Linked DNA regions of Homo sapiens: region 2 is linked to region 1. Evidence: promoter capture Hi-C in 16 types of primary human blood cells and fetal thymus (Javierre and others, 2016). All regions are on one chromosome and are shown on one strand. The core of a region is centred on a gene start or on the middle of the fragment in contact, and the rest is flanking DNA. Distances in the headings are between cores, read along the strand shown.

Region 1 (6,346 bases), core at 1,182-3,681:
TCCCAAAGTGCTGGGATCACAGGCATGAGCTACTGCACCTGGCTTTATATACATTTTAAGTGAGGGCATTTCAAGGTAAGTAAAGGAAGAGGTGGCCAGGAGGCTGCAGCACGTGGGGACCCCCAGCTCATCCCTCCCGCTCCCACTCTGGCCAAGGCCACGGTTCTGCCTCCCCGATCCACCAGGGCCCCGGCTCACGCGTGTGTCCTGACTCATCTGTCCTGAGTGTCCCCGGGCTCCTTCCTCGCCGTTCGGGTCCAGATCCCATGGGGACTGGAGGGCAGTGTGGGGGAGGGGTCCCTTCCCCAGGAGCAGTGGAGTGGGAACACCTGTGCGTGCCTGTCCCCGACCACTGCTGCAGCTGCACGGTTCCCACAAGCCTCTGTAGCCTTTGCGGGGTTGGGGACATGGCGGGTGACGTCCTGGCCAGCGGTTAGCTCCTAAGGCCACACAGCTGGGGCCACAGGTCACTCAGGCCAGGTGAGGGCTTGCGCCCTTTCCCCCATCTGCCCCAGCCAGCTTATAGCTAGGGGCTGCCCCTGAGGCTCTAGTACCGTCTCCTTAGGGCCCTCCTGGGCCCGCCCCCTCGACTTCTGAGCTCTTCGCTGCCCTAGGGACGCAGACCTCTTTGGGTCCTGCGACCCCAGGTTCGTTTCCTCTCCTCCGAGGGTGCTCTGGACTGCTCCCACAAACTCCTAGGCTGTTTGCTTAAATCTCCCCTTCAGAGTGAGGCCCTCCTGGCCTCAGTATCAGTAATAATAATGAGAAGAAGAACTCTTTAGCTGCTGGTGTGTGTATTTTACTTATTTTAAAAATTGACTCTCTTCCCTAAACTCTCCAGCCTCCTCCCGGCTGTCAGCTGCCACACGCAGGAATTTGTTGGTTTTGTTCAGCTGTTCCCGTGGGCCTGGTGGGCACTGGCTGGCAGGAAGAGCCCATGTGCATGCAGAGGTGGGTGCGTCTCATCCCGACCAGGCCATGCTCCGTCCTGCTGGTGCCCGCCAACCCCTCTGTCCTCAGACAATCTTCTAGAATGAGCGAAGGGCCTGAACAGGTGATTCACTCAAGAAAGAGGAATGTAGGGGCCCCGCCAGCGTGGATTGCATGCTTGGCCTGGTCCTGGTGCTCAAGAAGGCTCTTCCTTTTGTCATGGGACCCATACTCTAAGCATCCTCAATTACATACAGGATCAGAGAGGGCAAGTCATTTGCCCACGGCTCCACAGCTGCCTGACCCCACAACCCGTGCTGTAAACACACATGCTGCAGGCATCAGTGTGGTGGAATTGAAAACAGCCACGAGGCACCTTTTCCTGTGCATTTTGGGGAACTTGCCCTCCATCTGGCAGCCTCAATCCAAAATTTCTCCCTCCCCCGTTTCCCAGTTGCTGAGAAAGGGCTCCACCACCCATGCTGCCACCCGCACGAGGAACCAGGTGTCCCCGCCCATGCTCTGCCCTGAGGCTCAGCCTCCATCAGTTCTCATCAGGGCGATGCCAGGCCCCCAGGCCGGGCCCTAGGCCCAGTCTTGCCCTCTGATGCCACCTGCTCAGCTCCAGGGCCCAGGTGTGCTGGCGCCTGTGTGCAGGGGTGGCCCAGTGTGAGGACAGCAGGTAGCTACCCCTCCCCTGTACACAGCCCAAGTGACCAACACAGATGTCGACTGGGCCTTCACTGAGCCTTCTTAGCCATCCCCTGGGACCCGGCGAGCACCCGCACCCCAGCCTCTGGCTACACCATGGGGCACAGGCCTGCTCCCCCAGCCTCTCCTCTACTTGGTCACATTGCCCATTGGGTTTTTTTCTTTTTTTTTGTTTTTTTTCCTTTTTTGAGACAGTCTCACTGTCACAAGGCTGGAGTGTAGTGGCGCAATCTCGTCTCACTGCAACCTCCGCCTCCCGGGTTCACACCATTCTCCTGCCTCAGCCTCCCAAGTAGCTGGGAATACAGGTGTGCGCCACCACGCCTGGCTAATTTTTTGTATTTTTAGTAGAGACGGAGTTTCACCATGTTGGCCAGGATGGTCTTGATCTCTTGACCTCGTGATCCATCCGCCTCAGCCTCCCAAAGTGCTGGGATTACAGGCGTGAGCCACCATGCCCGGCCTGCCCAGGGGTTTTCAAACCATGAAAAGATCAAGTGAATTCTTTGCAGAGCACAAGAGACTCAGCTGGGGCTCAAACCCGGGGATGCTGGACTCAGCCCCTGGAGGCCCCTGCCCAAGCCTGGGCCTGGAGGAGAAAGGCAATGGTCGAAGGCCACCTGGGTTAGCCCGGCTCAGCTAAGGCCACAGCTGCTGCCATCCCAGGCTTCCTGGCCAGCCCTGCACCGACACATCTTGCCCACTCCCAGGGAAGGGATTATCGCCCCAAGGTCTCCAGATAACAGCAGGCACACAGGGCTATAACGGGGACCGGCAGACAGGCGTCCTACACCCCTGCCAGCGGCACCATGGCTTTCCTCTGGCTCCTCTCCTGCTGGGCCCTCCTGGGTACCACCTTCGGTGAGTGCCAGGCCCTGCGGAGGCCGAAGGGTTTTCTCCTCTCACTCCCAGCCCCGAGGCCAGCAAGAGGCAGCAGGGTCCCAGCTCCCAGTTCAGCTGTGCACCGCAGTGTGGGCCTGGGCGAGTCACCGGCTCCATCTCTGCCGTGGGCGCTGAGAGGTCAATGCCTCCCTCCCAGGCTCAGCTGCCGCCTCTGAGCTCAGGAGATGGGGAGTCCCGCTCCCCTTCCTCACCCCCAGCAGACCTGAGGCTCTCAGGGGAGGAGGCGGGGGGAGGAGGCAGGTGTCCGGGGGCTGCCCTGAGGCCTTCGGGAAACCCCCAAACAGTCAGCGGCCCCAGCACAGGTTTGGGTGGTGAATGTGTGGGCAGCTGGGGCTTGGCACCGTTCAGTCCAAACCTTTCAGAACCTCGAGCCTCACCCTCTTAAACTCCTGCTCACGGAGCACTTCCCGGGTGCCAGGCGCAGAGCTGGCGCTCTGCCTGCTCACTCTACCAAACCTGTGAGGTCAGAAACAGCGTGATCCCCACTTTGCTGATGGGGACACTGAGTGGCTTAGCTGGGCAGGGAGGGAGCCAGGTTCAAACCCACAGAGTCTGGCCTCCCAGACTGAGCGCCGGGGCTGCCGCCCACCGCACGCTCCACCTGTGTGACTTCTCCGAACTGAGGTGGGGCCAACACCCCATTCCTCAGCAGCCCACAGCCCAGTTCATTGGACTCAGTTGTACCTGGGGATTCCAGCTCTGCGGAGAGGAGAGCCAGGGCCAACTTCTCAGAGAAGGGGATGTGGGAGCCAGTCTAGGTCCCAGAGACTGGAAAAGAGTTGGGAGTGAGAGGAGGCTGGAGCATTAGGACCTGGGTGGGTGGTACCCACCCCTCAGCCCACTCCCGCCCCCAGGCTGCGGGGTCCCCGCCATCCACCCTGTGCTCAGCGGCCTGTCCAGGATCGTGAATGGGGAGGACGCCGTCCCCGGCTCCTGGCCCTGGCAGGTGTCCCTGCAGGTGAGGGGGTTCTGCAAGGTGGGGGGCACCCTGGGTAGGGGCCAGGCTGGGGGTGCCCCCGGGTGGGAGGTGCTGACCCTCCCCATCTTGCTCACAGGACAAAACCGGCTTCCACTTCTGCGGGGGCTCCCTCATCAGCGAGGACTGGGTGGTCACCGCTGCCCACTGCGGGGTCAGGTGAGGACCGGGCAGCCTTGGGCTCCGCTTCCAGCACCGGTCGGGTGGGAGGGGAGCAGGGCATGTTCTCTCACCCACAACGCTCTGCCCAGGACCTCCGACGTGGTCGTGGCTGGGGAGTTTGACCAGGGCTCTGACGAGGAGAACATCCAGGTCCTGAAGATCGCCAAGGTACCCAGGCCCCGTGCAGCAGAGGGCAGGGCCGTGGGCACGGGGGGAGACCCCTCGGCTGCTTCAGGGACAGGCGCCCAGTGGGGCCGGGCCGGCCTCGTGATTCCCATTCCGGCCCTGGGGATGGACTGCTCCTTAACGGGCACCAGGGAAGGAGTCTGTCCTCGAAGCCTGCAGGTCCTGCCTCCTCCCAGGGCCTCACCCCGGCACTCTGGCCCCCACCCCCAGGTCTTCAAGAACCCCAAGTTCAGCATTCTGACCGTGAACAATGACATCACCCTGCTGAAGCTGGCCACACCTGCCCGCTTCTCCCAGACAGTGTCCGCCGTGTGCCTGCCCAGCGCCGACGACGACTTCCCCGCGGGGACACTGTGTGCCACCACAGGCTGGGGCAAGACCAAGTACAACGGTGAGGGGCCGCGGGGCTGCCTCTGGGGTCTGGGCTGCCTGGCCGTGGAGTCCCCCCGTGACCGTTTGGCTCTAAATTCCAACACGCTCCTAACTGCCCGTTCGTTATTGAAAATCTTCTGAATTTAAAATCCCCCAAATGCAAATAAAATCCAGGTCGGATCATGAGGAGCCTGCACAGGGAGCTTCTGAGCAGCGCCCGGCCGGGTGAGCCCTGCCCTGGCTGACCTGCCTGGAGTCGCAGCGTGGGGCTCCCACCCGGGCAGGGCCGAGGCCCCCTTGTCCCACAGGCGCTTCTGAGGCTCCAGGGGCCGTACCCAACATCGTGGTGATGGTGCAGGGTAGGGCAGGCGTGTCGGCCCCGGGTCTCTCCCTCCACTCTTGGCTGAGTGAGCCCAGGGGCCCTGACCCTCCTCCTGTCCTGCAGCCAACAAGACCCCTGACAAGCTGCAGCAGGCAGCCCTGCCCCTCCTGTCCAATGCCGAATGCAAGAAGTCCTGGGGCAGGAGGATCACCGACGTGATGATCTGTGCCGGGGCCAGTGGCGTCTCCTCCTGCATGGTGAGGCTGGCCCTGCCCAGGCCCTGGCCAGGCGAGCGGGGTGCAGGGGAGGTCTGGGCTTTCCACCCCTCTCTGCTCTCATCTACTAACCCCACACCCTCCTGGGGCCCAGTGAGGGCCAGGCCTTGGGGTCACAGCCGCCCATGAGGGTTCCTCCAGGCCATGCAGCTGAGGCTGCCCCTGGGGACTTCCTTGCAGCCCTGTGAGCTGGAGGTTTGGAGAGATGGATGGTGCCCCGGCTTAGAGAGGGAAGCCACCTGCCCCAGCTCCCTCCAAGAGTGCATGGCAGAGTGGGGGCTGCCATGTGAACCCAGATCTCAGGACCCCGGCACAGCCCCTATGCCCATGCTTACCATTTCTCCGCACCCCTCCCTAGACTCCACCAGGTCAGGGTCCCCTAGGCCCTGGCACCCCTTTCAGGCCTAGAGATACTTCCTCTCCTTCCTGCAGGGTGACTCTGGAGGCCCCCTGGTCTGCCAGAAGGACGGAGCCTGGACCCTGGTGGGCATTGTGTCCTGGGGCAGCCGCACCTGCTCTACCACCACGCCCGCTGTGTACGCCCGTGTCGCCAAGCTCATACCCTGGGTGCAGAAGATCCTGGCCGCCAACTGAGCCCGCAGCTCCTGCCACCCCTGCCTTAAGATTTCCCATTAAATGCATCTGTTTAGAAGCCCTGACTGCACTGCCTGTGTCTGTGTGGCCCAGGGGAGGTGGGCTTGAAGTTGTCCTTGTCACCCACAAAGGGGCAGCACTACCGTTCCCTTTCCAGGCTGCAGTTAATGTTGGCAACCCAGCCTTCTCAGGAAGCTGAGGTCTTCATATCTCTTGCCTGCTCACGGCTCCACCCTGGGTTTAGAATTTAGGCCCTACCTGCTGAAGCTAGCTTGACCCGTGGGGCTTTCTGGAAGGCAGCAGTCCTTGGCCAGGCTCTGCAATCCATAGCCCCCTGGAGTTGTCACTGGGACCACTGCTGACCCACACACTCCAGGTGCCTTTCTCTGCCTTTAGTCCCCCATGTCCAGTGCTCAGGAATGTGCATGCAAGCATCACCCCCTCCCCCGTCAGACCCCAGCCCCTCACACCTTCTGCATCCACTGCTGGGAGCTGGCGCCACTGTCCTCTCAGCTCCCACACTCTTCCCCGCCTCCCTCTCTGCATTTTCTGTGACCCTGCAGTTAGACTTTTTTTTTTTTTTTTTTTTTTTTTTTTGAGACAGAGTCTTGTTCTGCTGCCTAGGCTGGAGTGCAGTGACATCTTGGCTCACGGCAACCTCTGCCTCCTGGGTTCAAGCCATTCTTCTGCCTCAGCCTCTCAAGTAACTGGGATTATAGGCACTCACTACCACGCCCGGCTAATTGTTGTATTTTCAGTAGAGATGGGGTTTCACTATGTTGTTCAGACTGGTCTCAAATTCCTGACCTCAGGTGATCTGCCTGCCTCGGCCTCCGAAAGTGCTGGGATCATAGGCATGAGCCACCGCGCTCGGCCTCTGCAGTTAGATCTTGAGGCTTCCTCACGCTCAGCTTC
Region 2 (5,435 bases), core at 641-3,140, 590 kb before region 1:
CTTTGGGAGGCCAAGGTGGGCGGATCACGAGGTCAGGAGATCGAGACCATCCTGGCTAACACGGTGAAACCCCGTCTCTACTAAAAATACAAAAAATTAGCCGGGCACGGTGGCGGGCACCTGTAGTCCCAGCTACTCAGGAGGCTGAGGTAGGAGAATGGCGTGAACCCGGGAGGCAGAGCTTGCAGTGAGCCCAGATGGGGCCACTGCACTCCAGCCTGGGTGATAGAGCAAGACTCTGTCTCAAAAAAAAAAAAAAATTAAAATAATTGAACTCATGGAGATAGAGAGTAGAAGGATGGTTACCAGAGGCTAGGAAAGGTAGTGGGGGACAGGGTGGGGTAGTGGGTATGGTTAATGGGTACAAAAAATAGAAAGAATGAATAAGACCTAGTGTTTGCCAGCACAACAGGGTGACTATAGACAAAAAAGAATTTAATTGTACATTTTTAAATAACTAAAAAAGTATAATTGGATTGTTTGTAACACAAAGGAAAAATGCTTGAGGCAATGGATATCTCATTTTCCCTGATGCGATTATGACACATTGAATGCTTGTATCAAAATATCTCATATATTCCACAAATATTTATACCTCCTATGTACCCACAAAAATTTAAAATTTAAAAAAGACAAATAACCCAAATAAAAAAATGAGACAGAGTTCAAATGGACATTAGATGGATGGATGGATGGATGGATGGATAGATAGATAGATAGATAGATAGATAGATAGATATAGCAAATACTCAATTGAGAAACTGCTCAACATCCTTCCTTAGTCACTAGAGAAATAAAAATCAAAGCCACAATAAGGTACCCATTTATTTATTTATTTATTTTTTAATAAGGTACCCATTTATATCTACTAAAATGACTATCATTTTGAAAATGGAAAATAACAAGTGTTGTAAGGATGTAGAGAAGCTGGAACCCCTCATACATTGCAGGTGGAGAGGTAAAATTGCACAGCTGCTGTGAGAAACAGTTTGGCTATTATTCAAAAAGGTAAACAGAGTTACCATACGATTCAGCATTTCCACTCCTAGATATACTCAAGAGAAAGGAAAACATGTGTTCATTCACACAAAAATTTGCACACATTCACAGTAGCCAAAAAGTGGAAACAAAACAAACGTCTATCAACTTATGAACACGTAAATAAAATGTAGGACACTTAGACAATAGCATAGTGTTCTGTTATTTAGAAACACGAAATGCTGATACATGCTACAACATAGATGAACCTTAAAAACATGAAGTGAAAGTAGCCACACATAAAGGAACACATACCATTTGACTCAGTTTAAATGAAAAGTCCAGAATAAACAAATCCTTAAAGACAGACAGCACAATCATGGCTTCCTCTTTTTGAGAGTGGGTGAAAATATTCCAGAACTTGATAGTCATGATGGTTGCACAACCTTACGAATCTATCCAAACCCACTGAATTGTACACTTTAAAATGGTGAATTTTATGGTGTGAATTATCTTCTGATTTTTAAAAAGACATACAATTAAACCAAATATTGCTACCGATTCCAAAAGCATGGGACAAACCAGCCATATCACTAATGTGGCTTCTCTGATTTTGACACATATTTTCCATCTTTCAAGAATCCAATACTGTTGCCGATAAAGCATTTTCATTTTAAGCTTCATAATAAGCCGGTCCATTGTTGTCATCATTCCTCGTCTGACATGTGATTTTATTTTATTTCCACAACATAGTGAATTTTGATAGATCACAGTAATTTCAATCCATGAGGATCTTTCAACTGTAGGAGTGAATTAGAAAGATATTTTTATATTGCCTATTTGAGATAACAGGTCCTAGCACCATGCTTCAGGCAAAATACATCAAAAGAATGAACTGAAGGTTAAGTTTCCTTTTAGATCTCAATTTTTATAACATCACAAAAATTCTTGCCTGAAAGCAGCCAAATTATTCAACTGCAAGACGTTCTATATTCACCTCATTCAGCCTGAGGGAAAGAACAAAGTCAGTAACTGGAGACACCTCTAAGGTTGAGGTGCATTCATCTTCTCATTATGCTCTTATGAGCCTCCAATCCCTGAATACAACACCAATACACTCCGAGAGAAAATGCAAGTAAAAGCTTTTTGAAAAGCTTTCTATTATGTCGTATTTGCAAAGGTAATTCTCACGTGAAAAGAAGCAATAAGAAACTCAAGTAATGAAATTTAAATACCATGTAAAACAATTATTACCATTTTATCCTACCCAAATCAGTCAATTAAATGGAACTCTCTCTCTAAATTAGTTTTAGATAGCATTTAATCCCAATTTAATAAAAGAATTACTTTGTATATGTACTTGTTTCTGGGCAGAAAGTCTCTTGCTGTGATTATGAAATCTTCCAAAGGAAAGGCTAGTGAGCCCTTTGCCTCTAATGCTGTTTACTGGAGAGCAGTGTTTGCATTCTGTTTAAGGTGGCTCTGTGGGGAATCCAGAGGTGTTTATTCACTGAACTACCTAGAGATCCTTATTATAAAATGATTTCAAATATAAGGGAATCCACTGACATATTATCCAGGAGCAACTTTGATGACAAATTTATATTTGATCAGGTCCTTCTTGGCTTCCATCTGTTTTCCGTAGGGCCTGGTCCTGTGCTATGCAGACAGAGCCCCCTGGGGTTGTGCAACACTGTGGTACTGCTTAATAAATGCTTCTTGACATTGATGATGATGACAATGGGTGTGCCATCAGGTGCTATGATGCACGTTCATTTATGCACATGGTCAATGATTTTGTATTGATCCCTCCATTTGTGCCAGGTCCTATCTGGGCATTGTTGACACAATGATGAACAAGAAAGGCAAGACCCCTGACCTCAAGCAGCTTTACATTTTGGTGAAGGGAGACAGAAAATAAACACAGCAGAAGTGAGTAAGATCATTTCAGACACTGATAAATGCTGTGGAAACAATACAGTTGAATCACGAAAATGGAAGTGACGGGGCAGGACTATTTATTTACAATGGCTCACTGAAGTGCACAGAGGCAGCCAGCCCATCAGGCAGTCCTGCAGCTTCTAAGACCAGTGGAGCGCCTATGCTGAGAGCACCAGGAAAACATGGAAGAGTCCAGGAATAGATGTTTGAAGGCCACCTAAGGAATCAGTGTACCAATAAAAACATCCAACTCACATCGGGCTTACACCGGGGACTGCTTTTAAAAAGTCTCCCATTATACCTGGTGGCCGTTCCTTTACACACACAGTAGCTCTATCCTATTTCAGCTTTCAAAATGTAGTCAGCTAAAGACTGGCCATAGTTCTGATATTTCACTATGACATAAAAAACAATTTGGAGTTTGTCCGGAAGACAGAATTAAAGAACTGTGAATCCTGAAATATCCCACTGAACTGCTGCTAACACACTCACACTCAGAGGTAAGGAAAGGGATGTAATTTTCCAATCAACAAATTCACAAGGTCAATATGCAATTGCAGGGAGTGGGAGGTTAGCTGCAGATGGGTCCAGGTGTAAGTTATGTACAATCATGACTCCAAAGAAATCTATTTTAGAACTTTACATGATAGTAATTGTCAAATCTTCACTGAATTTGTGTTATGTCTTTTATGTAGTCAATGTGATTTTTTTCTTTTTTTTTCTTTTTTTTTTTGTTTTTTTTTGAGATGGAGTTTTGCTCTTGTTGCCCAGGCTGGAGTGCAATGGCTTGATGTCAGCTCACAGCAACCTCCACCTCCCAGGTTCAAGTGATTCTCCTGCCTCAGCCTCCCAAGTAGCTGGGATTGCAGGCGCCCGCCACCACACCCAGCAATTTTTGTATTTTTAGTAGAGATGGGGTTTCTCCATATTGGTGGAGGCTGGTCTCGAACTCCTGACCTCAAGTGATTTGCCCGCCTTGGCCTCCCAAAGTGCTGGGATTACAGACGTGAGCCACCGTGCCCCGCCTGTCAATGTGATTTTTATAAAGAGTAATTTATAATTTCCTGGAAGAAAGGTAACTGCAAAACTGAGGCAGACCATGGCACACTTCTGGGTACATTTGGGAAAGTCAGTTTCTTGAGTGAAGTGGCCATGATCATCTGGAAGACTAACCGGTGGGCAAAGAAACGGAGAGATGAATGCCAACTCCAGTCTTTTCAGCAACATCGACATCACTGGGGCAGATAACATAGGTCAAATGTTCCAGCGTACCTTTGTTCCTTATGTGTTGTTTTGGTTTTGCTCTTGGATTTTTCTCATATTGCATATTTGAGACCAACTTATTGTGTATTTGAGACCGACGCTAACAACAGCTAGATGGGCTCCACCTAAGGACAGCTGTCGCCTTCCTGTCCTGTCCTGTTCCCTCTTATCCATCTCAAAAATACAGTGTAGTTTCTCCTACCACCTTCCATCAAACTGTCTTCTGGCCTCTGCCCCACACTCTCTCTTCCGCTTTATTCCACTCACTGGTACTCCATTGTCGTAACTCAGGCGAGATGACAACATTTCCAGGCAGCTGTCTTCATCCTCTAAGCCTGGGTTGAGATTCCCAGTACAAGCCCTGTAGCATTTCCATACCTTCAGCGTAAGGGTTTCAGCTGGTCTGGCTGTTCCACCAGACCATGGGCTTCTAGAGGCCAAGGACAGGCTGCCTGAAGACTCCCAATAAACCTTGTTGAAGAAAAGGACTCACTAGTTTGTAGTATGCTCCCACCTGCAGTCAACTCAATCCACTGAATTCTCTTTTCCTTTTCCTTTTTTTTTTTTTAATTATTTTACTACACTGATATAAACCCGCTGGATTCTCTCTCTGCTCCTGTATTCAGTGAGTTGCAATATCACGCCACATGGCTTCTGGAAAACTCCACTGTACACTCATAGTAGAGTGAGAATCAAAAAGACAGGTAATATTTTGCTGTTATTATTAAAATAGTATTGACTTTGTAGAATCTCTGAAAGGATTGTGAGGCCCTGCAGGAGTCCCCACCCCACTTGGAGAACCACCGGTCTGGATGATTAGATGTCACACAGGTGCTTTTTCTCAGCCATTCACAAGGAGCACGTCATTTCCCGACTGTCCTCACGGAGCCACCGGGAAGGTCCATGTTAGTTCAGCCATCTTACCCTCTCTAACAATTAGGCAGTAGAATTAGTCATGAAATTGTCTCCTTGAGGTAATTCTAAACCAATATTACTTTTGAATGCAGAACTTTTTAAATAATAATTGTTGGCCGGGCGCGGTGGCTCACGCCTGTAATCCCAGCACTTTGGGAGGCCGAGGCGGGCGGATCACGAAGTCAGGAGATCGAGACCATCCTGGCTAACACGGTGAAACCCCGTCTCTACTAAAAATACAAAAAAATTAGCCGGGCGTGGTGGCAGGCGCCTGTAGTCCCAGCTACTCAGGAGGCTGAGGCAGGAGAATGGCGTGAACCCGGGAGGCGGAGCTTGCA

Evidence for each region. The method cuts DNA at HindIII sites, captures the fragments that hold promoters and counts their contacts. A CHiCAGO score of 5 or more calls a contact.
Region 2: a contact is called between a fragment that was not itself captured here and the fragment with the promoter of CTRB2 in region 1, in 1 of 17 cell types (naive B cells). The highest score is 5.2, in naive B cells.

Annotation. Positions count from the first base shown.
Region 1 is chr16:75,203,246-75,209,591 of GRCh38, reverse strand. CTRB2 (chymotrypsinogen B2) reads left to right here and starts at 2,431. Exons shown (of 7, transcript NM_001025200.4): 1 at 2,431-2,502; 2 at 3,399-3,502; 3 at 3,600-3,679; 4 at 3,772-3,850; 5 at 4,079-4,259; 6 at 4,686-4,819; 7 at 5,270-5,489. The coding sequence starts at 2,451. The coding sequence ends at 5,431. RefSeq lists enhancers at 1-393, 394-949 and a silencer at 2,622-2,841. The HindIII fragment of the contact is 10,617 bases long and covers 1-6,346 here.
Region 2 is chr16:75,790,527-75,795,961 of GRCh38, reverse strand. All of the region lies in intron 2 of LOC105371348 (a long non-coding RNA gene), which reads right to left. Among named protein-coding and RNA genes, the nearest start is that of CPHXL, 67 kb to the right of the region's middle. The HindIII fragment of the contact is 464 bases long and covers 1,659-2,122 here.